5 separate regions of the Homo sapiens genome follow, and regions 1, 2, 3 and 4 are each linked to region 5. The links are contacts of gene promoters, found by promoter capture Hi-C in blood cells and fetal thymus (Javierre and others, 2016). All regions are on one chromosome and are shown on one strand. The core of a region is centred on a gene start or on the middle of the fragment in contact, and the rest is flanking DNA. Distances in the headings are between cores, read along the strand shown.

What was found. The method cuts DNA at HindIII sites, captures the fragments that hold promoters and counts their contacts. A CHiCAGO score of 5 or more calls a contact.
Region 1: a fragment that was not itself captured here is called in contact with the fragment with the promoter of LINC01948 in region 5 in 2 of 17 cell types (naive B cells and total B cells); the score reaches 8.7 in naive B cells.
Region 2: a contact is called between a fragment that was not itself captured here and the fragment with the promoter of LINC01948 in region 5, in 1 of 17 cell types (total B cells). The highest score is 6.2, in total B cells.
Region 3: a contact is called between a fragment that was not itself captured here and the fragment with the promoter of LINC01948 in region 5, in 2 of 17 cell types (total B cells and naive B cells). The highest score is 8.6, in total B cells.
Region 4: a fragment that was not itself captured here is called in contact with the fragment with the promoter of LINC01948 in region 5 in 1 of 17 cell types (neutrophils); the score reaches 5.5 in neutrophils.

What each region holds. Positions count from the first base shown.
Region 1 is chr5:56,560,767-56,563,524 of GRCh38, reverse strand. All of the region lies in intron 1 of C5orf67 (chromosome 5 putative open reading frame 67), which reads left to right. Among named protein-coding and RNA genes, the nearest start is that of C5orf67, 44 kb to the left of the region's middle. The HindIII fragment of the contact is 4,794 bases long and covers 1-2,758 here.
Region 2 is chr5:56,544,837-56,547,536 of GRCh38, reverse strand. All of the region lies in intron 2 of C5orf67 (chromosome 5 putative open reading frame 67), which reads left to right. Among named protein-coding and RNA genes, the nearest start is that of C5orf67, 60 kb to the left of the region's middle. RefSeq lists a silencer at 2,249-2,449. The HindIII fragment of the contact is 2,722 bases long and covers 80-2,700 here.
Region 3 is chr5:56,601,685-56,604,384 of GRCh38, reverse strand. The region is part of intron 1 of C5orf67 (chromosome 5 putative open reading frame 67); the gene reads left to right. Among named protein-coding and RNA genes, the nearest start is that of C5orf67, 3.2 kb to the left of the region's middle. RefSeq lists an enhancer at 1,143-2,700. The HindIII fragment of the contact is 2,851 bases long and covers 1-2,700 here.
Region 4 is chr5:56,386,769-56,389,468 of GRCh38, reverse strand. No RefSeq gene overlaps it. Among named protein-coding and RNA genes, the nearest start is that of LINC01948, 94 kb to the left of the region's middle. The HindIII fragment of the contact is 2,598 bases long and covers 73-2,670 here.
Region 5 is chr5:56,480,405-56,483,104 of GRCh38, reverse strand. LINC01948 (long intergenic non-protein coding RNA 1948) reads left to right here and starts at 1,336. Exons shown (of 5, transcript NR_104664.1): 1 at 1,336-1,552. RefSeq lists an enhancer at 1,408-1,567. The HindIII fragment of the contact is 6,332 bases long and covers 1-2,700 here.

The DNA.
Region 1 (2,758 bases), core at 171-2,670, 80 kb before region 5:
AAATGTCAGTTTTTATTAGCTATTATTTTTCAGAAGTTGAGATAGTTCAAACCTGATTCATGTAAAGACTTAGAAAATACCATTGACGGTCATTAGAGTACTCATCAGCCTCCAGGAAACACACTCCTAGTTTCTCAAGATCCATGTTCTTCTTAAGGGTCTCTACAAATTTGCTTTTAGTTCTCTTCCAAAGTACACAGACCATAAAGATCAGACAAGGTCTTAAGATCCATTGTAACAATACTGGTTTTCCTAGAGAGGTTCTGTCAAGCACAGAATGCTAGAATCAGAAAAGATCTTAGAAAATACTGTCTGTGCTGTCCCAATATAGTAGCCACTTGTTATATGTGCCTATGTAATCTTACTCTAAATTAGTTAAAAATAAAAATAAAATTAAAAATGCAGTTCCTCAGTTGTATTCATCACACTTTAAGTGCTCAATATATCCCCATGTGGCTAGTGGCTGCCACACCCAACAGTACAGAGACAGAACATTTTCATCACAACAGAAAATCCTATTGGATAGCACTGCTAGATCAACCTGCTCACTCTGTGTATGAAAACATTGAGGTCCAGAAGTCCAGAGAGGTGAAACGATTATACCAAAATCACATAGCTAGTTAAGGAAAGAACTAGACTACAGTTTAGGTGTTTTGATTTCTACTTCAAGATATTTTCCACTTGGTGACAAAGACACCTATGGATCCACAGGCTCTCTCCTGTCGTCATTAGTATGCCACATCTACATTATATATTATCTTGGAGAAATAATTTTGATGGCTCCATATTATCTATACTCTAATACCATTTTACTAACTGGAAACTTCATTTCCATTTCCATTCTAGGGTCCTTTTTTCTCAAAATCAGCAGGCCATTTTGTCACTCACACACATAGGGTAGCCAAGTTAGCCAAGTTGCAGTTAGTTAACAGTAATTGCTAATGTTTATTAAGCATTTACTATGCACCAGTCATCTCCTCTAAGTGATTTATTAGGTTGGTGCCAAAGTGATTGCCACTTTCAGTGGTAAAAACTGCAATCACTTTGGCACCAACCTAATACATTCAACTGATGAATGTGAGGCACAGAAATGTTATGGGGTGTGCTCAAGGAGATGGGGGGTTGGGATTTGAACTCAGTCAGTCTTCTCCAGGGCCCTTGCTCTTATTCACTATGCTATAGTGTGTAGGGCATTACACAAAGTTTGATGAAAGCTAAAGCATGTGAGCAACGAATGGGAATGCAATGTCCTTACTCGAGAAATAAATAATCCAGTTATGGGCCAAGAAGAAAGTAGCAGATCCATGTGGACAATTTATGTGTACATTTTAGTATTTATAATCATACAAATACTTATGAATTTGGCAGTCTGCATCTCTAAACCTACTCTCTTTCTTCTCTTTCTTTCTTTTTGCTAAAAAACAAAACCCAAAAAGCAAAATCCTTTAATAACAAATGCCCTTCAAACGGTTGGTGATTATCCCTAAGTGGTCTACCTTTACATAGGTCTCCTGTCAGGGCCCTGGATTCATCTGGGTATGCTCCTGAGAATCCATTTGTTGACTGGCTAGGGCTGTCGATGAATGGAGGAAGGGGAGTGGAGAGATCACTTAATGCTTTGATTATAGGTCGGAGCCCCGCCAGCAGAGGTTTCTCACTAAGGCCATGGAGTTAAGTGTGTTTGTGACAAGATTTTTGCACAGATTCACTAAGTATAAATAGAGGATGTTTTTAAAAAGTAGATAGATTTAACAGTTGATTTCATGCTTTGGAAGCAATCCTTTTCAGTTTAAAAAAAAAAAATCCTTGCCCACACTTGCTGGTGAAACCACATTGGCACCCAGCTAGCAGCAGTGGTGTTTAAACATGCTGTGGCTGGCACCATTCAAACAACAACAGAAACGGCTTTAGGCTCTCAAAGCCTCCTTACTGTGCTGTGTAGAGTCCCTTCCAAGATTTCAAATAGATGAACGAATAATGTACCAAGTTGCAATTATCACTCTGAATTGGTCCAATCATAAGATGCTATTCTTGAATTATTAGTAGACTATGATTTCTATTATTCATGTTCCATCTGCTTTGGGATTTGAATTTGAGTTTTTGTGCTTAACATCTTCTGCATTTCACAAAAAGCCTCAGCCAAGGGCACTGATAATTTTTATAAGGTGTTCTGGGTCACGAACGAGTGGAATATAGCTTCTGAAGAGGCCACTTCCCTGAACTAGGGAATGTCACAAGGTTAAGTTTACTGCTTAACATAAATCTTACTTTTTTTCTTTTCTGTTTTAGGCTAGACGGTAAATTTTGCTAAGTGTTATAAAAAAAACTGAGGATTAGAATAGACGCTTTATTAACTGATTTCCACTTTACCAACTCACCAGCTTAACTGGTAGTACCCCATGCACAGGGTACTATCTCTCACCTTCCATCTCTCACCTTCTTGCTTGTGGCAAGAAGACTGCTCTCTGGTGGGTTCAGTACTTCAGCTCCCACTGAGTTTTAATTAACGGACCAATTACCCGATCCTGATTGCACTAAAGAAGAGAGCCCCAGCTGTTCTTTTATAAGTTCATAATCTTTTACTCTGAGTTTCATTTACTTGGTCAGGAAGAAATCTGTTGGGTGCAGAAGATGGCACTGACCTAATAAGATCTTAAGCTACCAGGAGATGCAAGACAGGCATTACTTAAGCAGCATGGCTATGGAAGAACCAGCCTAATTGACAGGCTGAACCAATGTGGCACCCAGGAAGATGGTG
Region 2 (2,700 bases), core at 191-2,690, 64 kb before region 5:
ATCTTTTCCAACCCTAAAATTCCATTAGTGTGTGGTTTTCATGTGAATGATTATTCAAAGCAGATATTTTTAAAAAGCTTTAAGCATACAAATAATAACTTCCTCCACGAAAACAAATGTTACTCTTTCTATAAAATGCACCTGCTTACTTGCTTCTGGTGCAGATGGTGGTGTGCAAGCCTTCCCCATGGGGGCTTTGGTCCTAATATCCTCAGGTGGTGTGTCTTCTCTCTTCTCTCCATCGTGGTACTATCTGTCCCAAGGACTCAGCTCACCCAGGCGTGAATATGCCAAGAGGCCCATCTGCTAATGGCTGAGACCTAATAGCTGCTTCACAAGGCTCACCAGCACCTTGGTTTCCACAGTGTAAGGAAGGAAAACCCAGGTGAGCAGAGGAAGGAACTATTATCTAGGAATTTTGCCCTCTAGAACCAATGCAGACTGCTTGCCTTCCTGTGACCTCCCGCTGTGATCAACCTTCTCAAACGTAAGGGTTTGAAATCATATGAGAGTGAGGACAACTTGGCCACCAGCACTAATGGGTCTAGTGAAGGCCCAGGCAGTAGGAGAGGCAAAGGGAAGAGGGGTGAGATACGTGTATGTGGTGTTTTATTTTTTCTTGTTTCTAGAGAAATAAAAGAGGACTATTTAGAAAAAGGAGGGAAAGTTTTCACAGTTTTATTCAGACCAATATGAGAATGAGAAATGAAAATGGCAAGCATCAGCAAGGCGATATTACCATTCACTTTCTTGTTGAAGTGTCTGCAGACTTTGCCATTAGCCAAATATAATATTGTCCAACCTCTCTCCTCAAGTTCTAGGGAAGCTGAAACATGTTAATTGACAGCAAAGATGTCTTCAGAATCATCATTTATCCCCAAGGTAGATACACATTTCCTCTATGCTAAAAATAATTATAATATTAAATCGTTCATAGCAGAAAACAAGTAAGACTTGATGAAACTTTATTGAATTTATTTGCCCCCCTCATGTTAGGGCCTATAGGAGGCATGCACATGGCCCTGGAGTTAAACTAGAAAATTATCCATGCTTGTCCATTCTGCGAGGTATTATTGTGGCCTGAGAGGTGGAGACCTTATCCATGGAGAGAACATTTTTTAAGCCATATAAACATTAGCAGACCACAATAAAATCAATACTGAAAATGCAACTTAAGGACATGGCACTCTCTCTCTCTCTCTCTCTCTCTCTCACACACACACACACACACACACACACACACACACACACACACAAAGAAGGAACTGGGGGTCCTTTATTCTGGGTAACTGGGAAGGTTCTGGTCACTTTGGATAAGAGTTGCAATTAGGCTTCCAACCCGATACCCTTAGCCAAGCACAGCTCCCCATGAGATTTATGGGGCTAACAGATAAATAACACTTGCATCTGAACGCATTCATGAATAGTCATTCCAGGAAACTAAAGCAAATGTGTGTTTTTGGAGAAAATTATCCAGGTGATTGCTCTGATTTCCATTTTTCTTCCCAGCACAAATTAAAAACAAAATTTCTGAGGTCATGGAAGAAAGAAGATATGCACCACATTATCACCAGATCCTGTCTAAAAGTTGTCCCCATCCTGATGGATTGATCGAGACTTTGGATTCTGGCAGTCTTTGAAACTCACACTGCATGACATGTGCAAAGTCCTCCTTCAGTCGAAGGATGATTCTTCAAAGGGTGATCCCTCAAAGACACTAAGAAGGCAGCTGACCCCCAGAAGGCCCTTTTGGATTGCAGAATTCCAGGCGCTCGCACCTCTGAATACAGCACTGAAGACAGCTTGGCTGCCTCCCCGCCTCCTCTGTCCTGGTACAGCTGCAGAGGGGCTGACTTTGGCAGCCATAGATCACTGAGGCTTTGTCTCAGCTTCTCTCAGAACAGCTTTTCATCAGGAGATTCACAACATCTCTCAAAACACATGTAGGAAGAAGAAGTAAAGCAAACACCAATGGTTTCTTTCAAGAAAGAGACTACTTGGAATCTTTGGGTTTTGGTTTATGATTACAGTGTGTGGAACGGATCATTTCTGGTTTATGAGCAGCTTGATGTGCTAGAAAGAGCTGTGAATTTGGACTTGGAGCAATTAGGATTCTGGTTCCAGCTTTTTTCCAGCTACAGCTCGCGAGTAACTTAGTTTAGCTTCTTTGACCTTGGTTTCCTCATCTGTAAAATGAGAGGGTTTGCTCAGATGATCTTTGACCTAATGAGTCTACGAAAAGTGAATGTTGGAAGCACATGTTCACCTTCTCCAATTACCAGCTGTGATTATGTGACTGGACCAAATGGCACTAACTGTCGAAACCTTTTAGGCTGAAGGGGAAGCACTAACTGTTGAAACCTTTTAGGCTGAAGGGGAAGCATTCTGAAATAGGACAAGGGGCACCTCGTGTTGAAACCTGGAGCTGGTCAACCCTCTGAGGCCAATGCCGACCTTTGCATCTGCCTCCCACGCCCTGCTTGTTTTAGCTGGACCAGGAGAAACTAATGTCAAGACAAAAAAAAAAAAAACCTGAAATCCATAACATTTTGATAGGTAGCTTTATGAACAGTTACAAATCAGATGTTTGCCCCCCAAATTTTAACTTTATTCTCTGAAACAGATCTAAAATTCCTATCTACCTCACAGTTTCACAGATAACCCAGTCTCTTCCAGTTTATAACTGCCTCTTTGGGGTAA
Region 3 (2,700 bases), core at 35-2,534, 120 kb before region 5:
AGTTCATGGCAGATCGTCTCACACATATAATTGGTCTTCTCTGTTGGCACAGCAGAGTGTGCAGACTTATTATAAGGAATGTTTGGTTATCCTGAACTCAGTCCCTGAAGGACAGGTGTATGTTTTACAGCTGCACGCAGGGAATTTTATTCATGGGCCAGCTTCCAACTGCCCTTAGCTTGGCTCTTGTACCATTTCTCCAGCTCAGCTCCCCACCCTTCCCCCCGCTAATTTTGGTATTGGCCTAAATGAACAAATAAGATCTTAAAAAAAAAACAAACCCTCATGGCTTCTAGAGATGTTTATTTTTGTTGTTGCTGTTGTTGTTGTGTGTAAGTGTGTGCGAGAAAGGTGGCACATATGTTTTATAGATTTGGAAAATGTAGATGAATGAATTTAAACTATTTGCCTAAAGGTCAAAAATTGGGAGCATGTTAACTAGAACTACACTCATCATTGCCTCCTTCAAAAAACAATGCTCCACAGTTGATGTGCGTCTGGAGCCTTTGTGCTGGGCCCTGCATGGTCTAGAATCTGACATTGAGTTCTTTTATGCAAACTTTATACCTTTGAAATTGTCTTCCAGTTATTCAATCAGACACTTTTTTTTTTTTTTTGTGACACCCAGGCTGAAATGCAGTGGCACGATCTTGGCTTACTGCAGCCTCCACCTCCCGGTTTCCAGTGATTTTCCTGCCTCAGCCTCCCGGGTGCTGGGATTAAAGGCACGTGACACTACACCAGGCTAATTTTTGTATTTTTAGTAGAGACGGGGTTTCACTATGTTGGGCAGGCTGGTCTCGAATTTCTGACCTCAGGTGATCCTCCCACCTCGGCCTCCCAAAGTGCTGGGATTACAGGCGTGAGCCACCGCGCCCAATCTCTTCAAACACTTTCTACAGGATACCTACTGTGACTTTTGCAGTCAAAGTGAAACTTGATCAACAATAAAAGCTACTAGCGAAAAATCTTGTGGTGATAGTGGGCAGGGAGAAGGGGTAGAGGAATCCCTTATGATTGTGGTCTATGGTAAATCATTGCAACATTTACCGTTACTACTGACATATTGACATTACATACGAAAACAAATGGACTAATTTGTGACCACTAAGATGTATGGTTTGACCCCCTGCTTTCAGAGTAGCCCCTTTGGTTCTGTTTTCTCTAATCTGACTGTGGAGTCTCAGACTAACTCCAATTTTTCAGCATTTATTGAGTACTTGCTATGCTCTTGGTGCTAGGGTCACACAAATGTTTTTTATAACACACCCCTACCTTTGAAGGAAAGCCAGTCTGCCTTTCTCATGTGCTGATTTTTAGGGGATTTAGAAGATGGCAGTTGCTGGGCAAGGTTATTGTTTATGTAGAAGGTATCATTGTTAGGAATCTAATCGCTCTTTTGCTGTGACTCATAATTATAAGATCATATTCGCACGATGCTCTGCCATTTAGAAAGAGATTTTGCATGTTCAATTTCATTTGGTCTTTACAACAATCTTTTGAGGTAGGTTACTGGAGTACCCTTATCCTCAGTTTGTAGAGAGAGAAACTGAGGCATGGAGAGGCTAGTGACCTGCCCAAAGTCAAAAGCTAGCAAGTGGAGAAGCCAAATCTCAAACTTCGATCCCATGACTCTTCTGATTCAGAAGTCTCATTATCATTCTGGCTCTTTTAGAAAAAAGGGAAGAGCCACACTGTGAACTCATCTGAGGGCAGAGACCTTGTCTTTGTTACCTCAGGATCCTCCCTGTTCCCATAACTTCTAGCATAATGTCTGGTATACATCAGGCTATAATACAGGTTTGTTGGTTGAAATCACATCAAATCTCTGTCAATGAGAGAGAAAAAAGAGATGGCCACCTTTCTCCCTTCATATTACCAGACATTAAAGATTATGATGATGACCTACTCTACTTTATTCTTGCTCACCACCCTGTATAGAATTGCACATAAATATTTGTTAGTGTGGAACATTTCATTTCCCAGCAGTCTAGAGCTTCGTTGGGTAGATAGGCTGAAAGGTGACACTACTGAATTTGCAGCATGCTTCACTCACATTATAGCCTATTTATCTTCAGTATCATGACAACTTTGAGGAGTTCATCGGAAAATTTGGATTCTGTGACTGCTCCAGAGACAGGCCTAGTGGACGATTTTAATAACCTCCCTGTGAATGTCATAAAGGCAGGCAGGAGGAGAGGGGTTATGAGCAGTCTTTTCATATCTACCACTATGGAAATAAGCCAGTTACTTGTCTCAGAGTTCAGGCTCCAGAAAATACTCCTCTTGTTTCTATCCTCTAGAATCATCCTCAGCAAAGGACAATTTATTTCAGGCTAAAATAAATGTTTATTCTAGTCTGAAACCACAGTTGCTCAACTCCAAGAAAGCTGCATAACCTCAAGCAGGTGACATTTGATGGTTTTCCCTTTTGTATCAGATGAATTTTAATTTTTCTCTGAGGTCAACAGGCACGATGCTGAAATACTTCAGTGGATGCTCATTGACCTGAGCTATCCAACTTGCATTCAGCAAGTACAAAATCTATTTCAGATGAGTCTCTGTTCCCATTCTGCCCTGTCAGCAGGGAAGAAAGGGAACAATTATTTGGTGATAATCACTCTGACGGCAGTAATCTCTGGCAGCTGCTAGAGAAGAGACATAATTGCCTCCTACACCCCTAACCTTTAGAATAGAGCT
Region 4 (2,700 bases), core at 122-2,621, 94 kb after region 5:
ATGGAATTCAACCAAGTTAGCAAAGTCATGGCTCTGATTTGTGCTGGAGTGAGTGAATGACTGAGGTAAGCTTTCAACTGAAATTTGACTGTGGTTTAGTTCCTTGTAGAACATGAGATTTTTAGAGATATTCTGAATAAAGAAAAGTCTTCCAAGGTCAAATATTTTTGGAAAGTGCTCCTCCACTCTTGAAGATTCACAATGGACATTAGCATATACGTGAATGGCTCTTCAGTAAAGAAAACTACTTATCTTTCTGTTTGTTGAGCCCAACAGGTCTTAACATAATTTCATTATATATATATATATATATATATATATATATATATATATATATATATATATTTTTTTTTTTTTTTTTTTTTTTTTTCCCCTCATTTGGAAGCATTAGAATCCTCTGAGGTTAAATTAACCTGACAAACCCTGAGCAGGAAGTTATGCATGGAAGTGACACCAAGTGTGTTTGGACAAGACTTTATCCCACATGTGAAGGTACTCTTCATTCAGACACAGGAGGAGACTCCATCTCTCTCTTCCTGGTGACATAGCTTAGAGTTATATTTTGTTCAGATGTAGAAATTGATAGAGCCAAAATAAACAAAATTGCAGATGTAACTAAAAAAGCTCTTGAGGTGACTCCTGTTCTGTGCCTAAAGCAAAAATTCCACACTTAATCACTTTTGTAAGTAGCTATTCCTACCTGGGCTTCCCAGGGGAATAGGAAACCATTTCACTAACTGCTGTAGTCTAAAATTCCAGAGATATAATTTATGAGCTGTTCCAGAGGCCAAGAACAGAATTATTCCCAGCAGAAGATGCAATGTTTTAAGAGCAATGAAATCCATACTCTGAAGAAAAGAGGAAAAGCAGATTCTAAGAGTCTTAGAGCCTATTAACAAAATATATTAAGTGCTAGTGGACCTGAGGTGATGGCTAATGTTATAGTTGGTCTAAGTCACCTATTGATGTTTCCATGTTTGGATTAGTTGGATTTTTTCTCATGTCACTTTCTTGTAGTTAACCTTGACTCTGTTGTTGACCTAACCTGAGCCCTGCATACTTTCTGCTAAGTCATGAAAAGGTTAAGAATTTATAAAGAAAAGACAAACAAGCCTCTAAGATTGGTTACTGAAATGGTTACTTTCCTGTTAGGAATTTTGCATCTCAAACAAAATGAGAAGAGTGGGCTTATGTATGCCAGGAGGTTTATAGGTCTACAACACGTGCAAGACACAGAAGAAAATCTGCAGAAATGGGACCAGCTCTCAGTATTCAGAGGGCCAGTGTGATTCTCTCAATAGCACAAATATTTCTGGACACATATCCTAAAATGAATTAAACATATAATGACAGGGTATTAAGTTCCTTAGATACAAGCAATTTCGAGAGGAATGGGAAAGGGGAGGCATGGAGAATGTATCCATAAACACAGTTCTAAAAAATACAAAAGATCTCTTTCGTTTCTAAGAGGTAATTATTTAATGGAAATATTCATGAGAACACAGCCCAAGGACTGTTGTAAAAATATAAAACTTACATTAATTATCATAAAGAATCTATTCAGTGCCATGAATGCAAAATGGCTGTTTTCATGAACAAAGCCAAAAGCAATTTAATCTTCCCTCTTTGAAAACAGGGATTGGTATTTGAGTACCTGATTTAGCCTGGGTCCTGAGCAAGCTGCTGAGAGAGTTGCAGTGGAATTCATGGGTTCATTAGAGATTGCTTATTTTAATAATAGGCATCCCCTTGCTTTGTTTGTACTAACTATTCTTAATATGTAAGAAGGCCAAAACATTACTGGATAATCAATTACCAAGCCTCAGAAACAAGTGAAATAGGTGAAGTACACAGTCCAATTTTTTTGAAAGTGTTTCCTTTACAAAATTGCTTTCGCTCATGCTCTGATGTTTTTAATTCTGTAATTAGAAATATGCCACCTTGGGTTAACGTGTTGATGTTTATTTAAAAGTAAACAGAATAACTAATACAGTATATTAAGCCTTTTCTGTCAATTGAAATATGACTTAATGTATTACTGCAGTAAACTGTTGCAGTTACTGAAACTCAGGAGGATGAATTTACCAGATCCCTTCCTAAAACCAGGCTTTGACATGGAAGGGGGTAGAGTGATCTTGAGGACCGTGAATGGTGAGGAATTCCCAGAAATAGGAGGTGACAACATCTAAGGCCATCTTTCCTGCTTCACAGTATTTTTTCAACTGTGCTTATTATAAATAGTTTTGTCCCCTCTTTATAGAAGTTGACTCTAAAAATTCTGTAAGATTGCAGAGCAATTGTACATTTTCAGAGCCATCATATTCTCAAATCTTCCCAAGTAGCACCAGTATTTTCATCCAAGAAACTCTTTAGATCCCCTTAGTATCATTCTGTGCCTGGGGTTTTCCGCACTTTTGGACACTGCCATTCATTCAACAAATTCAAGGACGATAAGACGCTGCTGTAGCCCTCCCGCCTGGAGTGTGGAAGACAGTGGGCGAGACAAACTCAATAGCAATGCATTGCTATCTTTATAGACCCAATTTCTAGTTATCTCTGAAACTATGGTATGTGGCTCTTTGAACGTTCTATTTTGTCTTATTTTGCTTTGGAAGTGCATTCTTTCAAGTCTAATTAGACTATTTGTGGCTTAAAGAAAAATACAAAGCTTTTCCCAGGACACTTTGGGCTTTCATGTTT
Region 5 (2,700 bases), core at 87-2,586:
TTTGCATTTCTCTGATAATCAGCAATGCTGAGCATCTTTTCACATTTGTTGGCTGCTTGCATGTCTTCTTTTGAGAAGTGTCTGTTCATGTCTTTTGCCCACTTTTTAACAGGGTTGTTTGTGTTTGTGTTTTGCTTGCATAGCTGCTTTCCATGTTCTTTTCTATGTTATCTAGAACTATAATAAAAGTAACTGCCCAGCTCTTTGGGAGGCTGGGGCAGGCGAATCACTTGAGGTCAGGAGTTCAAGGGTAGCCTGGCCAATATGGTGAAACCCTGTCTCTATTAAAAATACAAAAATTAGCCGAGTGTGGTGGCACACACCTGGATTCCCAGCTACTCAGGAGGCTGAGGCAGGAGAATTACTTGAACCCCCAAGGCGGAGGTTGCAGTGAGCCCAGATCGCACCACTGTACTCCAGCCTGGGAGACAGAGTGAGACAGCGTCTCAAAAAAACAAAAAAAAAGGAACTAGGTCTAAGACAGGGTACCCAATCTATTTCTAAGAAGATGCTACTTCTCATTTTCTGGAAACACTGTAGCAAAGAGGAAGGGACAATAATGTCCCATAGTGGGTGGGCAGATATAAAAACCCCAAGATGTTCATTTCAGGCCCAAAGTGACTACTGCTTGCTACCCTCACCTTTCTCTGCTGGAACACTACCAGCCCCTGTGAGATGTGGGTGATCTCATGGGTGTTTGGAAGAATCCCAGTACCAGGCTAGGGGATCATCAAAGCTGACTGGATCAGTCCTGCTAGATCAGGAAGCCTTACTGAGTAAGGCTAATGCCAGGTCTCCAAACTGCCACTGAGCATCAGGGGTCCTTCCCACAATATCTTTGTTTCTCTAGGTCAAGAAATGATGCCGTCCCTAGAAACAGCGCAATGTTTATGTAAGAGTCAACTCAGAGACCTTGTGCCGGTACAAGAGGTACTATCTCATCCTGCTCCCCTGCAGGCACTAAATGAGACAAAATTCCTTCTGGAGTTCAAGTCCAGAAGGCTGACTATGCTGTTAATGGCAGTATACTGAGTTAAGAGAATTCGGGGAGACGGGAATATTGGGTCCACGATTCTGCCTGGAGGGAAGAATTGTGGTCTCCTCAGTCCTGTGGAGTAGGGGTCCGGGCTGATGATAGCGCCTCCTGGTGCAGAGTATACAAACAGCTGAAGATCTGCCTGGACCCCCTACCCCTCTCTTTTTTCCTTGTGGAAACTGTGTATAATTTGGAAAGAGCAAGGACATCCTGGCTCGCAGCTGGCCAGCTCCACCTGCGACCTGGACAGCCTCGCCCCTCCCTGCGGAGCCAGGCGAGTTCACAGGGCTGCCTCCGCTTCTTGCAGCATGTCTGCTCTCCTGGCCTGGCCTCTCCAGACCTTTCCCTCCACGGGCAGCGATTTCCAAGGCTCTCAAGACTCCAAACCACGTCGTTTTGGGAGTGAAAAAGTGAAAGCACACATCGTGTCATTAGAGCAGCAGGGACCAGCTGCTGGGTCAACACTTCCGAAAACAGCGCTTCCTGGGGAGCGACCGGAGCATCTCAGAATCTACGGTTTGACCTCCTGCCAATTCTCATGGTGTCTTTATACATTTTAACACAAAAATAAGATGTTTTCACTTGAGAGCGAGAGGGAAATGAACTGTTAAGGTGCTCTGTCGCCAGAGAAGTGAAGTTGGGGGGTAAATTTTAGGAACCCCCGACCCCCCTACCGAGGGAGGATGCGAAGTCGGCTCCTGAAACGCGAGCGAAACCCCCGCGCGCTTCCCGGGGTGACGCACATGTCTGTGTTTCTTTTTGCTTTTGACCAAAAGTCGTAGGGAGGGTCCTCCTCAGGGGACAGTCGCGGGCGCTGTGCCAGTCCTTCCTGTCCCCCCACCAAAGTCAACCCCAGCCCCAGGCCAAGGCCGCCCCGGCCGGAAGAGCCAGCTGGTGGGGGCCGTGGGGGGCGCGGCGGGCGCGCGGGGCTGGGGGCGGCGGGTCCGCCTACCCCGCCTTCCTGGCGTGGAGAGTTTCGGCCCCAGCCTCGCTGGCGTGGACTCTGCCTGAACCACGCCTGGGATGCTTTTGCCAAAGGAAACTTGGGGGGTGGGGGCGGGGCGGGCGACGATTCCCCCCCTCCCCACCCCGCCCCTGTCCTCCTCGGCCGGGAGCCGCGCTGGGCCGGGGTCAGCTGGCTGCCTTTGTGGCCGCTTCCCAGGAAGGAAGAAGCGTTGTCTGCAGATCAGTTGATCCGCGGGCTTTCCTGTGTCGGAATGCCGCCGTTTTCCGGGGACGGCTGCCACCCCCGTGATTCCCAGCCGGGGCTGCCGGCCGTGCGTAAGAGCCGGATAAATAGGCCATTGTGAGGCCGTTCAGATCTAGGTTTCTTATCACAGTATCCACCAGCGAGAAGCAGATTCGGCCCCTGATGGAGCTCATCCCAGCTTCTCTTTTCTTTCTCTGCACAGTTACAGCCATTTCTATTTTTTGCAGTTGTAAAGGGAATATTCAGAAAGCAATTTATTGTGTGCGACAGGGACTTAAGGGAGCGTGTCTGCAGACCGTGTTCCCACCGGGGTTGGGGTTCGCAACCTTGAGTTTAGCTCGATGGGCTTTGGTGTGTGAGGTTTCTACCCGCCCATCGCCCAAGGCAGGCACGTCCTTAAACACCAGCTGCAAGTATCAGGAGGGCAAGTCCGTAGGTCTCTAGATCCAGTGGG